Regions from separate parts of the Homo sapiens genome. Here region 2 is linked to region 1. The links are contacts of gene promoters, found by promoter capture Hi-C in blood cells and fetal thymus (Javierre and others, 2016). All regions are on one chromosome and are shown on one strand. Each heading gives the region's core, a stretch centred on a gene start or on the middle of the fragment in contact. The rest is flanking DNA. Distances are from core to core; before and after follow the strand shown. Region 1 holds the start of COLGALT2 (collagen beta(1-O)galactosyltransferase 2). Region 2 has its middle 170 kb from the start of C1orf21-DT.

Evidence for each region. The method cuts DNA at HindIII sites, captures the fragments that hold promoters and counts their contacts. A CHiCAGO score of 5 or more calls a contact.
Region 2: a fragment that was not itself captured here is called in contact with the fragment with the promoter of COLGALT2 in region 1 in 1 of 17 cell types (neutrophils); the score reaches 5.8 in neutrophils.

What each region holds. Positions count from the first base shown.
Region 1 is chr1:184,035,115-184,042,166 of GRCh38, reverse strand. COLGALT2 (collagen beta(1-O)galactosyltransferase 2) reads left to right here and starts at 4,439. Exons shown (of 12, transcript NM_015101.4): 1 at 4,439-5,072. The coding sequence starts at 4,810. RefSeq lists a silencer at 4,627-4,716. The HindIII fragment of the contact is 2,777 bases long and covers 3,045-5,821 here.
Region 2 is chr1:184,217,626-184,224,707 of GRCh38, reverse strand. No RefSeq gene overlaps it. Among named protein-coding and RNA genes, the nearest start is that of C1orf21-DT, 170 kb to the left of the region's middle. RefSeq lists an enhancer at 742-1,275. The HindIII fragment of the contact is 4,300 bases long and covers 501-4,800 here.

The sequences.
Region 1 (7,052 bases), core at 3,190-5,689:
TGCATGCTACTTATTTTTCAATGCTCAATTCAAAGACATCTCTTTAATTAAACATTTCCTAGCTATCTCCACTTCCCCACTTCCTTACTTATGCTCCTTTTTCCATCATAAGACATAAAATGACTTATAGCATTTGTGCATTTATATGACACATCTTATTTATTCATGCATTTCCAGCAACTATATCTTGGCACAGAGTAGGCATTGAGCAAGTGTTTGAAGGAATGAGTTAATATAATTTAAGGGATGCATCTATTCTTAAATGAGACGTAGAAGTGTAGTTTACATTTGTATAAACTTGTTTTGAATTGGAAAACATTCCTCCGTAGTGACTATTCTATAGCTCTTGGATGCAGCCAGAGCATAGACAAAACTTTGACACTGACGTAGTTTAATTTTAGCCTTTCCCACCTCAGTCACTGCTCTTTTTCTCCCTTAATATTAATTCCCTTCCTAGGACCCAGAGTCCTCGGGCCTACGTATCAGAAATCCATAAAACTTGCTTTGTCACCAAAGAGACCCATGCTTCAAATTAGGATCCCATTCAGTTCCCTTTATCAAAACTTCTTATAGGCCATTTCAGTTTAGGTGATAAGATTTAAAAATCTGATTGAATTAAAAAGATATCATCTAATGCTCCTCTCTCAAGGATTTTCATGTTGAAATTGGCAGAATTGTCAATTCAAGTACATTTTACATTGTAGGATTTTAGGATGGATCAGAAAAGCGAGTAAAACAAACCAGGTAGTGAAAGAAAGATATTTCAGTACAGAAGAAAGAAGCCTGGATAATTCAGCCAAGAGACTCTTTCTGCCAACTATGGCCCAGCAGGACTTACGAGGGGCTGGCCACTTTCTCCCTGTTTTTCCAAGGGAGAAGCATTCAAATATTCAACACTCAAATGATTGGCATTTAGCAATTTCATAAATGTTTGTTGAATGAAAAAATGAGGCAAGCATTTAAAACTTTTTTACCTAGGAAGGAATTGATGTTCAAAGAGGTCAAGTTTCCAAGGTCACAAAGAGAATAAGTGACACCAGTGAAATGAAAATTCAGCTCCAAGTGTCAGTTGCTCTTTCAAGCCTATCACAGCTGCCCCAGAGGCATTTATTTCCTCCTCTTCTGGGCTGCTGGAGCCACAGACATCTTGAGAAGCTTTCCTGCAAGAAGTCCTCTGGCCACCTCATAGGCCCTGTCCCCACCACATTGCACTAAGGGTGACAGTCCAAGAGGTTTTGTTGTCCCAGATGGAAGTCCCCTGTGCTGGAACAGTATGGGGAGGGGATATGAGAGAAAGTGCTTACTTCTAACTTTATGTAGAATCAATTGGAACAGTCTACTGGCAGTGGAGACAAAGAGATATGTGTGTACAACCCTGACTTTCCATTCAGCCGATTTTCCATGGAAAGAGCATTATAAGCAATGAATATTTTAAAATATAATTGGCTTTTATTTTTAAATTAGTTTTTTTTTTCAAATTAACTGTCTTATAACATCAATCCTATGCGGGGGGGAAACATCCAAATTCACATTACTGATTTCTGAAGAACTTATGAAACAAATCTGTTAGTAAGATGGGGACTTAATTTTTCCCAGGCTTCCCCTCCACTGCCTCCCAACCATATTTACAATGATCTTCTACTGTTGCATACCCTGTTATTACCTTAATATTCTCAGTCACTAAATGAGCACTCAATTAAAAGTTTTAAATAGGTGTTTTGTAGGTTATGTGGCTGGGAAACCCTTGATTTCATCTACAGAGCAGAGCAGGTTGTAGTTATTTTAAGAGAACTCCATGGAGCCGATTTCATTATAATGTCATTAGAGACCATACAGGTTTAGATGCTTCACCTTTCTTTGAAAAAATAGACTCAGATAAGCTGTTGACTTTAGGTAACTGTATTAGTCTGTCCTCACGCTGTGAATAAAGACATAGCTGAGATTGGGTAATTTATAAAGAAAAAGAAGTTTAGTGGACTCACAGTTCCACATAGCTGGGGAGGCCTCACAATCATGGCAGAAGGCAAAGGAGGAGCAAAGACACACCTTACATGGCGGCAGGCAAGGGAGCATGTGCAGGGGAACTGCCCTTTATAAAACCATCAGATCTTGTGAGGCTTATTCACTATCACGAGACTAGCATGGGAAAAACCTGCCCCCATGATTCAATTACGTCCCACGACACGTGGGGATTATGGGAGCTATAATTCGATGTGAGATTTGGGTGAGGACATAGGCAGACCATATCAGTAACAGAAGGAAAATAAGACAGAAATGTGGTTGCCTAGCTTTAAACTCCCTCTGTTTGCAGTAAAGTGAACAAATGATAACTATCAAACCAAGTTTGGCTAAGGAGTGCGGATTTTAGTATTGAAAGATGAGTGGGACATAGTTCAAGAAAGGGAAACAAGAAAGACAGAACAACATGGAGATTGTCTGGACCTTTCTAACAGTCCCATCACTACCTCCCTTGTGGAAATGACCACATCTTCCTCTATCCCTTCACTGTAGCTGGTACATCTGTTACAGTACTTCTAACAGATGTTTAACTCTCAGTCTTCCCTACAAGACTGTGAGCCCCTTGAAAGTGGGAACAATTCCTGAAAATGGATGGAGGGGAAGGAAATGTCTGTAGGCCATTCGATAAAAAAATATGAAGATTAGAGAAGAGATTAGAGCAGAAGACATAGATTTTGAGGATATAACCACAGGAGACCATATGGAGTGGGAAGACTAGCACACTATAGGGAGGCACACAGTGAAGGGGCTTGGCTCAGAGACAAGTAGTATCAGAGGAGATCTAGGATGGGAGATTATGTAATCGAAGTCCAGGAAGGTGAGAACGGAAGAGTTTACTGAATCTGCCAATGCTGAGGCCATCTGTTGGTTTTGCAGAACAGTGGGGAGGGCTGACGCCTTACTGCACTGTGGTGGGAAAGATGGGAGATGAAGAAGTGGAGAATACAAGTATAGATCTCTCTTCCAAGGAGCTTGGTCAAGCAAAGGGATGACTAGAAGAAGACACAGGACTTTTTTTTAAAGCTTTTCTTTCTTTTTTTTTTAACGGATAAGAGAAGACTGACCAAGTATTTAGCTTGAGAGAAAGGAGTTGATAGAGATCAGTTGAAGATTCAGTAGAGAGTGGAATGATAGAGAAAAATCATGGGCTAGAAAGGGAGACCTCTCCCTTTCTAGTCTGTGATCAAAGACCCTGTCGTGAGGAGGCACCTGCAAGTAAGAAAGGTCTTGGTAGGGATGCTAGTTGGAGACAGTGGTGTTGGGGGAGCTGGATGAAGGAGGTGATATACTTCAAAAGACAGTAGGGAAGACTTCTAATAGTTGCTGAGAAGGATTGATAACAACTAATAAAAAGACTATGGGACAGACCTGAGGGTGAGTTGGGATTGGAGATCATGAATGTGCACTGGCACCAAAACACCCTCCATACTTATCTATCAAAGGCTACACAATATATCTTCAAAACTAAATATCCAGCCGAGCATGGTGGCTGATGCCTGTAATCGTAACACTTTGGGAGGCCGAGTTGGGCAGATCACTTGAGCCCAGGAGTTCCAGACCAGCCTGGGCAAAATGGTGAAAACCCGTCTCTACAAAAAAAAAAAAAAAAAAAAAAATTAGCTAGGCGTGGTGATGGACACCTGTGGTCCCAGCTACTCGGGAGGCTGAGGTGGGAGGATTGCTTGAGCCCAGGAGGTCGAGGCTGCAGTGAATTGTGATCGTGCCTCTGCACTCCAGCCCCGGCAACAGAGTGAGGCCCTGTCTCAAAAAAAAAAAAAAAAAAAAAGTAAATCTCCTTTAGCAGTGTATGCCAGCAGTTTCATTTTATGTGCTAATTGTGTTCTTCCTTCACCCCTTCTTTTCTTCCTTATCTCTTCTCTGCTCTCCAACATGCGCGAATTTTCCCTCTTTGTTACTCTATCATATTGGCTTATTACGGAAAAAGAAAACCAGCTAAGTGAATTTATTCTTTCACAGCCCTCCTGTGAGGAGGCTTACTGGGTTCACAGTAGAGTGAGGCTTCAGGACAGTGTCTCCCAAGGGCTTTCTTTTATTTTGCGGGGTCTGATCTGGCTCCAAAATTCTCCAAGTCTTCAAACTTTGTGTTATTAGGTGTCTACTCAGTCAAGAATGAATTTCAGAAGTTGAGTATATAAGAAAATGCGACATGCTGCCTTTGCGGTGGTTAAACAAGTGTTTGTCATAATCGTGAATAGTTGGGGAGACTTTTCATTTTAGAACTCTACTCAGTCAATAGGTGCATTATGAAAACTGGATACATTGCATCACTGTGAAGGGCTTCAGTCTGCGGTTTGCAAAAGCAGAATAAATTTTCTTGGGGTTGTACCGTTATGTACACACACACACACACACACACACACACACACACACACTCACAGGCTCATTGGCAGACAGGGCCACAACTCGCGGCTCTAGGGAAGGCCACAGACCTCAGCTGTACGAGCGGAACCTGGACTAGAGGAACTTTCCTCAGGACTCAGGGCACACAGCCCCTCGGCCACTACTGTCTGCGAGCCCGAGGCGCAGGGGAGCGCCAGCGGCTGCAGGTACGCTGCGCACCCGCACTGGGGCCTGGGCGGTGCAGCGGCGGCGGGAGGGTCCTGGGAACCGCAGCCGCCGAGGCCAGTGTGTGAGCCGGCCGGCCGCGGCAAGCCGCATCCCCCGGCCGCCCCTCGCAGCCCCTTGCTCCCCGGCAGCCGCCGCCGCCCTCAGGCAGCCCAGCCGGGCGCTCGCGCCAGGACTTCCCCGCCGCCCGCCTCGGCCCGGAACATGGCTGCGCGCCCTGCTGCCACCCTCGCCTGGTCGCTACTGCTCCTCTCCTCAGCCCTGCTCCGCGAAGGCTGCCGAGCGCGCTTCGTCGCCGAGCGGGACTCGGAGGACGACGGAGAGGAGCCGGTGGTTTTCCCGGAGTCGCCCCTGCAGAGCCCCACGGTGCTCGTGGCGGTCCTCGCCCGCAACGCGGCGCACACGCTGCCGCACTTCCTCGGCTGCCTGGAGCGGCTGGACTACCCCAAGAGCAGGATGGCCATCTGGTGAGCGCGCACGGGCCCCGGGCCGCCGCGGCGGGACGCGGGGGCGGCCTGCCCAGCGCGGACAGCGCCCGGAGCAGCAGCTGCAGGGCGAGGGAGCCGCTGGAGGGGCGGGGGGGCACGCGGAAAATCTGGCGCACACACCCCCTCGCTGCCCGCGCCGGTGGCTGGCGGATCGGGCGGTCAGGCTGCGGAGGGACGCGCGGGTCAGTGTGCGCAGAGGGTGCTGATGGGGAGAACCGGACCGCTGGAGCTCTGGAGGGTAGCCTGCGAATTGGGGCTTTGTCCCACAAGGGGCATGGGGGACACCCCTCAAGGGGACTTTCAGTTCCCTCGCTTTTAACTCTCGAGGTTTCCTCTTTCCCCACCTCATACTGCTAGCCCTGACGTGAGGGGATAGGGTGCCTGTCGCCGTATTCCCATGTAGATACGACAGATGGAACGTAACTGCGGTTGGCCAGGGGCTCCGCAGTGGCTGGGGCGCCGCAGTGCGCTGCTCTGACTTTCCGGTGCCGGGCTCCTGCTCCAGGCTGGAAATGTGCTCCTAGCTCTCCTAGGGGGACCTGGACCTAGGGGTGGAGATTGGGCGGAGCCCGCGGAGTGTGCCCAACCATGGCACCACCGTGGGCCTGGTCTCCTGCGAGCGCTCCGGGCTGTCCCTGCCGGTGCATCGGGGTTCCACGTCCCGGGGAGAGACGAAGATGCCCTGGGAAAGATAAACAGCCAAGTTTTGTCCCCGGAGGAAAGAAGCTTGGACCTGGTCCCTGTGTCTGCTGCGGGGAGGGCCAGGGGATAAGTGCGGGTGCCTGCCCGCCCCACCTTGTAGAACTTGGTCGTCTCGCACCTTTTATAAACGCGAGGATCCGAGGGCGAGAAGTTAGTTGGTGGCCAGGTTAGCCGCTGAGTGGGTTGTGGAGGACAAGGAGGTGGATGCTGGCCAGGGGAGATGTGCTGTCAGGTAGGTACTCGGACAAGAAGACTCTGGCCCCCTGAGGAAGACAGAGCCCAGGTCACTCTGGAGCAATTTCTGTCTTGTGTTGATAAAGGGAGCTGTTCTCAGGCGAGACACATCCTTAAAGCAGCGGTTGGGCAAAGAGAGGAAGAGGAGTAAAAGCAGCAGCTAGAATTGGCAGCCTCAGAGTACCTGGTGGGAGAGGTGCAAAGGTGCGAAAGCAAACATGTGATATAGTACAGCTCTGTGCTGTACACTGCTTTACTATATACCCTGCCATACGTGACCGCCTGGCGGAGAAGGGCATATTATGTGGAAAGAGAGCACTGGGACAGCCAGGCTTTAAACCAGAAGGAAGGATTTTTTTTTAACCACTTCGGTACCAAAAGAAATTCACACATATCAGTTACCTTAGTTGTTGTGTTTTTTTTAAGAGATATTTTAAAATATGGTTTTGATCTTTATGCATGATTTAGTTTTTTAAAACGTTACAGTATTTACCATAAGAAGTTGGTGAGTGGTGAAGCAGGTGTCAGGCACATGCTTTGCTACCTGATTTAGAGACATTACCTCTTTTTATCATACAGTAAACTTTTAAGAGGATGCTATGATGTTTATTTTGCAAAGAAAGAGACAGACTTGCATCAGTTCAGTAAGTCACTTAAAGTGACAGAATTAATAAATGGTGAAACTGGAATTTGAACCCAAGGCCACCCTAAAAAGGCAGGAAACATGATATAAACAAAATTTACATAAGCCTATAATCTACAAATTAGGAGACTTGAGTTGTTTATTACTAGTTTGATATGTGATTTGGGGCTGGTTGCTTGGGATCCATAGGCATCAGTTGCCTCATCAATAAAACGAGGGAGTTGGAATAAATGATTTCAAAAATTCTTTATGGCTCTTGAATTCCATAGATTTTGCAATATAATTAGGATCAACCAGCATCAATGTACATCCTAAGTTCCCTGTAAGTTCCAGATGGTATGGACACTGGTGTCTTACTTAGATGAGAGAATTCCAGTTCT
Region 2 (7,082 bases), core at 1,401-3,900, 180 kb before region 1:
TTGAGTATATCCTATGCACTGTGGGCACTTCTGTCCTCAACACTGGAGATGTTGCGAGTGAGAAGACACAATGCCTGCATTCAAAGAGCTTATGATCCACTCAAGAAGTCAGACAAGAGATAAACAATCTTAGCACAGGGTGTTACATGATCTGGAGAAGTAAGCCCAGGGTGCTGTGGGAGACAGAAGGGGAATCTGGGTGCAGCTGGAGGAAGCCTTCTGCCTAAAGATGGCTGATCAGCTCCTTCTGGGTAAAGAGGGTGGTCAGTTCTGTGTGGTTAACTTCTCTCTCTCCTTCCTGACAGAGAGGAGGCAGAGACCTGGGGGAAAGAGAATTGATTACAATCAGTGATTGTAATGGAAGAAAATTCTGCAAAAAAAACCCATGGTGATGTAGAAAGGGGAGAACTGCCTTCAGACAAGATGTTTTTAACGAATCTATGGAAGAAAAAAAGGTGGATGGAGGAGCAGTGCTGGGGAAGCAGGATGAAGCTGAAGCTTCCCAGACGGCCAGAAGGTGGGTGGAGAGAGAGGGAAGGAGGGGAGGCTAAGACTGAGAAGAGAGGCTCAGAAAGGCTCTGACGCTGGAACTCAAGCCTAGCAGAATTGAGAGCTGGAGTAGGATAGGCCAGAGAACACAAGAGGAGTCATTGAAAACCTTTGAGAAAAACTCTCGATGGGACCACCCACCCATGCCAGTGTATTCAGCAGTTAAGTGTCCATCTCCAAAATAAATCAGGTGTCCTTCAAAGCACTGAGTGGCCCCAGAGAGCAGACCTGCACCTTCTGGCACTTAGAAGTCCTTCTGAGTAGAGCAGGCTTTCTACTCCATCACCCTAATGCCATGGTTCTCCGCAGTGAGTGATTTTGCCCCCCCAGGACATTTGGGAGTGAGTAGAGAAGACATTTTTGGTTGTCTGTGAGGACAACAAACTTGGGGAAGGTGCTACTGGCACGTGGAGGGTAGAGGCCAGAGGTGCTGCGAAACATACTACACCGTGGAGGAGAGACTCAGACAACAAAGAATTATTTAGCCTCAAATGTCAATAATAAGAAACTCTAACATAAAGTTCTCCAGTTTACAAACCCCACCCCCACAAACTCCAAACAGTACTCCACAGCCATTTCAGCATTGTCACGTTTCAGTCATCAAGGATCTACTTAACCAAGTGCCTGGCCCCGCTGGATGCTGTAAGACGGGGGTCCCTAACCCCCAGGGCCACGGACTGGTATCTGTTAGGAACCGGGCTGCACAGCAGGAGGTGAGTGTGGGCCAGCCAGCATCACCACCTGAGCTCCGCCTCCTGTCAGATCAGCGGCAGCATTAGGCTCTCATAGGAGCATGAACCACACTGTGAACTGCGCATGCGAGGGATCTCGGTGGCTAAGATTCTGAACCATTCTACAGCGTAACACTGATGCTGTAGATTAATGGCAGGCTCTTTATGAGAATCTAATGCCTGGAAATCTGTCACTGTCTCCTACCACCCCTAGATGGGACCTTCTAGTTGCAGGAAAACAAGCCAGGGGCTCCCACTGATTCTACATTACAGTGAGTTATATAATTATTTCATTACATATTACAATGTGATAACAACAGAAATAAAGCACACGATAAATGTAATGGGCTTGAATCATCCCGAAACCATCCCCACACCCCGCTGGTCCATGGAAAAATTGCCTTCCATGAAACCGGTCCCTGGTGCCAAAAAGGTTGGAGACCACTACTGTAAGAGATGCTTTACGGCAGATCCATGACATGGTCACTGGGGACATGGAAAGAGAAAGGGTGTTTCCGTGTTGCTTTGAAAAACTCTGAGGCAATGCAACCAAAATTTTAAAAAGAAGAAAAAGAAAGCGTCTGAATTAGGAAAGAGCAAACAGCTTCGGTACATGCTACTGGGAAAAACGGCTTTTCAGGGTTGACCGCAGTACCTATCGATGGCCAGCAGAGGGCAGATGGGGCAAAAGAGCAGGAGAAAGGGAATTTCTGCCCTTCAGGGAGGCAATTCCAGTAAGAATACATGATTGTAAGTCAAGAGTCAACTGGAATTAAAAGCAGGAAATAGAGAAGGCAGTAGCTCACTGACTCCAAGACAATGCAGGTTTCACACAGTTGGGAGTCGAGGCCACAGAAGAACTAGGGAACCCAGGGCACCAAGGCTGAGGGGTAAGGGGCCAGAGTGGGCATGGGGCTTGGGTGGGAGAGCCCGATCCATTGCCAGGTGCTGTGCTCACCATACACAGGGGGAATAGGCCTCTGAAACACCTTCAGTGTTTGCCTCTGCCTCCTCTCAGCCTCCGCTTTGCTTTTTATAGGCCCAGTGCCTGGTATGACAATCAGAGGAAGCTGAAAAGCCTACCTGCAGGCCATGCAATGATGTGGGTGGATTTGGAAGAGGTGGATTCTGCTGGTGGGAAAGATGAAACCTGGCTTTGGTTGGTAGCAGGCTATTCTATATGTGAGTTTCTGCCCAACAGTTCCATGGTCGCCCTGCAAACCCAGCATCACACTGTAGTGTGTTTTGATCGCATAAACCTCCTTGAAAAGTCATTCTATAAGCACTTCTTGTTTTGTAAAAATAAAGTGTATTAGGGTTCTCTAGAGGGACAGAACTAATAGGATAGATGTATATATAAAGGAAAGTTTATTAAGGAGAATTGACTTACATGATCACAAGGTAAAGTCCCACAATAGGCCATCTGCAAGCTGAGGAGCAAAGAAGCCAATTTGAGTCCCAAAACCTCAAAGGTAGGGAAGCTGACAGTGCAGCCTTCAGTCTGTGGCCGAAGGCCTGAGAGTCCCTGGCAAACCACTGGTGTAAGTCCAAGAGTCCAAAAGCTGAAGAACTTGAGTTTGATGTTTGAGAGCAGGAAGCATCCAGCACGGGAGAAAGAAGATGGGCGGAAAACTCAGCAAGTCTGCTTCATTCTAGCCATGCTGGCAGCTGATTAGATGGTGCCCACCCACATTGAGGGTGGGTCTGTCTCTCCTAGTCCACCGACTCAAACGTTAATCTCCTTTGGCAACACCCTCACAGACACACCCAGGAACAATACTTTGCATCCTTCAATCCAATCAAGTTGACACTTAATATTAACCATCAAAGAAGAGTTAAGACATCTCTAGGGGAGTTTTCAGGGAATACCTGGAAATATTCTGGTGTCCAATAAAGGTAAAATTCTCATCAGAATCAACACACAGGGTATCTTCCCAAGCTCATTTTTATCATCACTGATGATAGTTACTCATTCTCCAAGTTTATTTCATGAATGTTTAGAATCAAGTCTAAACATCTCAGAAATCTCATTTATTAATAATGTATATCTAGCCGAGTGAGCAATGAGGAAAAGGTTTAATGTCCAAGATTTGGGGCTGGAGATAATATAACCTCTACCATGCTTACAGAATATAAAATGCTGGCCTAGTCTAGAAACCCAATCAAATGGCAACACAAAATGCAGACTACAAGTGTGGAATATTCTGATTTATTTGCTGTTTTAAAAAACCCTTTTTGCCTGATACCTATCAAAACCAAAAATAATCCTCTCACACAAGATAAGCGGGGATAGGAACTACACATTATTTAGGAGCTGGGCATTGTTGTAAGTACTTATTTGTTCTGGCATTTAATCCTCAGAACAGCCAACTGAATTAGTATTATTATGCCATTTTATAGATGAAGAAACCAATGTTCTAAGACATCACTGTAATAATCGAACAAGTTTTGTTGTTGTTGTTGTTGTTTTTAAGTGTCTTCTGTATCAGGAACTGAGCCATATTCTGGAGAAAAACAGAAACAATGACAGTGTCTCCCCCGTCTGCGGGATGTAGATATGTACACTGACAATTACATACTACAAATACTGTAATGGAAGTGGGAACACCTGGAATCTGCCTGGGTCAGGGACAATTTCATAGCGAGGTGACTCCAGCTGATTCCTAAAAGAATAGAGATTTTCCACTTTTCCCGTCTACTTGATGCTGTGATCTTATACTGTTGCAAAGTGATATCTCCAATTTCCATGGAAACTCCCTGCAGGCTAATTAGAATCCAGTTTATAAATTTAAAATAGGTAGAGTTTGATATTCTCTGATGCACACCGGTGTCTACTTCCTGCTGGCAGAGTTCTGTGGCCTTTTTGGGGATCCTTGGGATGGGACAAGGCTGATAAAATAACTTACCAGCTGGAGGTCACCACTCTTATCTAGCAATGGCATTCAATTGCTAGATAAGACACAAGTTGATAAGACTCAATTGACCCATGTGGCCCACCTGAAACGCCACATGGGGCAATTGAACCACCCGTCTCTTCCACCTGCCCTAAACTGCTACTACTTTTGGGGCTAAAGTGCCCTCTGCCCTTCACTGGTGGTTCTCAGAGCAGCTCTGGCCAGCTCGCCAGTGGCCCTGCCTGAGAATCCTCAGTGGAGTTCCATGTCTAGAGGAAGTCAAGGAAAAGAGGCCCACATTAGTGGAGAATTGCGCTCGTCTGTGATTGGTGGAGCCTCTCTAAGATTTTTCCAGCGTCAATATTCCCTTTCAAACATCATTAAAGCTAAAAGGAAAAGTCAGCACTAGATGTGAGGAAGCAGATTGGAGTCCTGTGTGTTATATGGCGACAACTGCCTCCATCGCAGGGCTGACTCACCGTCGTGTTATTGACCGGAAGAATATTTATTATCACAGGTCAAAGAATGAAGCATACTTCTCTCATTTCACTCAATTAATTTGTATAAAATGTTAGTTCATAATATGTGCTGTAATTTTCTTTAAAAACTTTTTTTTAAGTCAAGCTTTGTCAGCTATAAGAAGTGATGGACAGCAGCTAGGTGCTTAAGGCAGCCTGTGGGTTCTGGCTCAAAAGAAATAAGAAAAAGCCAAGACCCCCTTGACTTGCCTGGAGACCTTACAGAATATTAACATGGAGGGTTCATAACAGGCAATATAGTTCATTTTAATTAGGATCCCACAACCCTAGAAATTAAGTTACAGAAGATCTATTAGGTCATCTGGCCTATCGCTTTCCCTATCCCCTGTGCAATGCAGGATTGTTCCCTGGGGTCTGCTCACAAATGCATGGTTCAGTCTACATTTAAATGACTGCAACTATGAGGCTTACGTCATCCCCCTTGGGGATGACTATTACGTAGTCTAATGGATTTCACCATGATTATTTTTCCCTCCAGAGATTCTGCCCAAATTTCTCTTTGCTTGAATTTGTCTCATTTTTCCTCATTATATACCTTCAGGTTCAGAAAAATCACAAAAATGACAGTGAGAATGACCAAGTCTCTATTTCTTACTCTTTAGCAATAAAGATGGAAGTCGCCCCAGTGGGCTTTCTCAGTTTCACATTTTGTAGGTAAGCTGGAACACTGCTAACCCTTCTTACTCTTAGAAGACACTCACCATTCCTCTTAAAGGAATCCACAAAAATCACCAGCGTGGGGGCAGGTTTGAGTTTCAGTGGTGGTGGTCCATTTGACACGATTCACTCCTCCCTGCCTTGTCTGATCAACCATGTAACCAATGATATATTTGCCAAGATTTGTGATGCTCTCTGTGTCAGCAGAACAGAGGAAATCATTCTGGCTTTTGGGGGATGGTACCTATGACTTTACAATCATTGGCACCATTTAAGCTACCAGCCAAGCCACCCACTCCCTATTACATTTCTCAATGACACTCAAGGAATCTTACAACTTCAAGTTGACTAGGCGAAGAGATTTGGATCTTCTTTATGTCATCAATTTCACATATGTGCATACACGTGTACAGAGAGAAGCAGCAGCACCAGGAGAAGGAAACAAAGGAGAAATAGCAGCAGGGCTGCAAAAGAAAACACATCCCACATTCACAATCCCCTATTTATAAAGGATAATTGAGTCCCATGCATGGTGAGACTGTGACTCATTAGAACTCCTTAATTAAAGAGGAAAGCCTCCCTGGTGATTTTATTTCCTTGGGTTTGTTTTTGGTTGTTATTGCTAAGTATGAGAAAGACAGCAATGCCCTGCTTGGAGAGAGGATCATTCTTCTGAGCAGGACACGAAGCTGGAAAATGAATTCACTAATGAATTCAGAGCACAGCCAGGGCTGAATTGCAACTCCTTGCTATCCCACTAGCAATCGTCCCTAAGCACAATTACCCTGAATCATTACACTGGATGGCAACTCAGGCTGAGTGAGATGGTTGGAAAGGAAAGTGTGATTTAATGACAGAAAGGGCACAGCGTACATGTGGCCACACCTCTATTTCCAAGGACAGGTCCATTCATTCTTTTATTCTTTCCGTCTACTCTTCTGGGGCCAGGCACTGTGCTAAGTACTAGGAATAGTTGTCCAGGGCTGTTGAAAGAGGGTGGCAGGCCATACATCAAAACTTTAACAGCATATAGTTATAATTTCATCTTTCTTTGTATTGGAAGTAAAGGACAATTTAGAATCTTTTAAAATGGATTACAAAATTCTGTAAATACGTACAGCGTGAGAGAAAATAACATAATTAAACACTTGTCTGCCCACCATCTAACTTTATTGAATCTTAACATTTTGACATATTTGCTTTAGATTTTGTAAAATAATAAAACACTATAAAGTAATTGAAGCCTCCTACGTGCTCCTCCTCTAAGCCACCCTACAGGTAACCATCATGTTAAATTTCATGTTTACCATTCCTATTCATGCTTTATACTACTCTTCACATATGTGTCTTATGTGTGAATCCATAAATAACAAATAGGCTGTTTTATATGCTTTCAAACTTTATACAAAAGGTGTCCTATTGTACCTATTTTTCTGTAATTTGGTTTTTTAAAATTCATTATTTTTGAGATTTACCCATGTTAATGATACATGTAATCCTAGTTCATTCATTTCAGTTCTTACACAAAATTTCATTATACTTATATGGCTATAGCACAGCTTATTTATCTACTGTTGATGGTCAGTTCGTTTCCTCTTATTTTGTTCTATTGCTAATAATGCTGTAGTCAACATTCTTCTATACACCTTCTCTGCAGATGTGACAGAGTTTCATGAGATTATATGCCCAGAGGTGGAGCCTCTAGCTCAAAG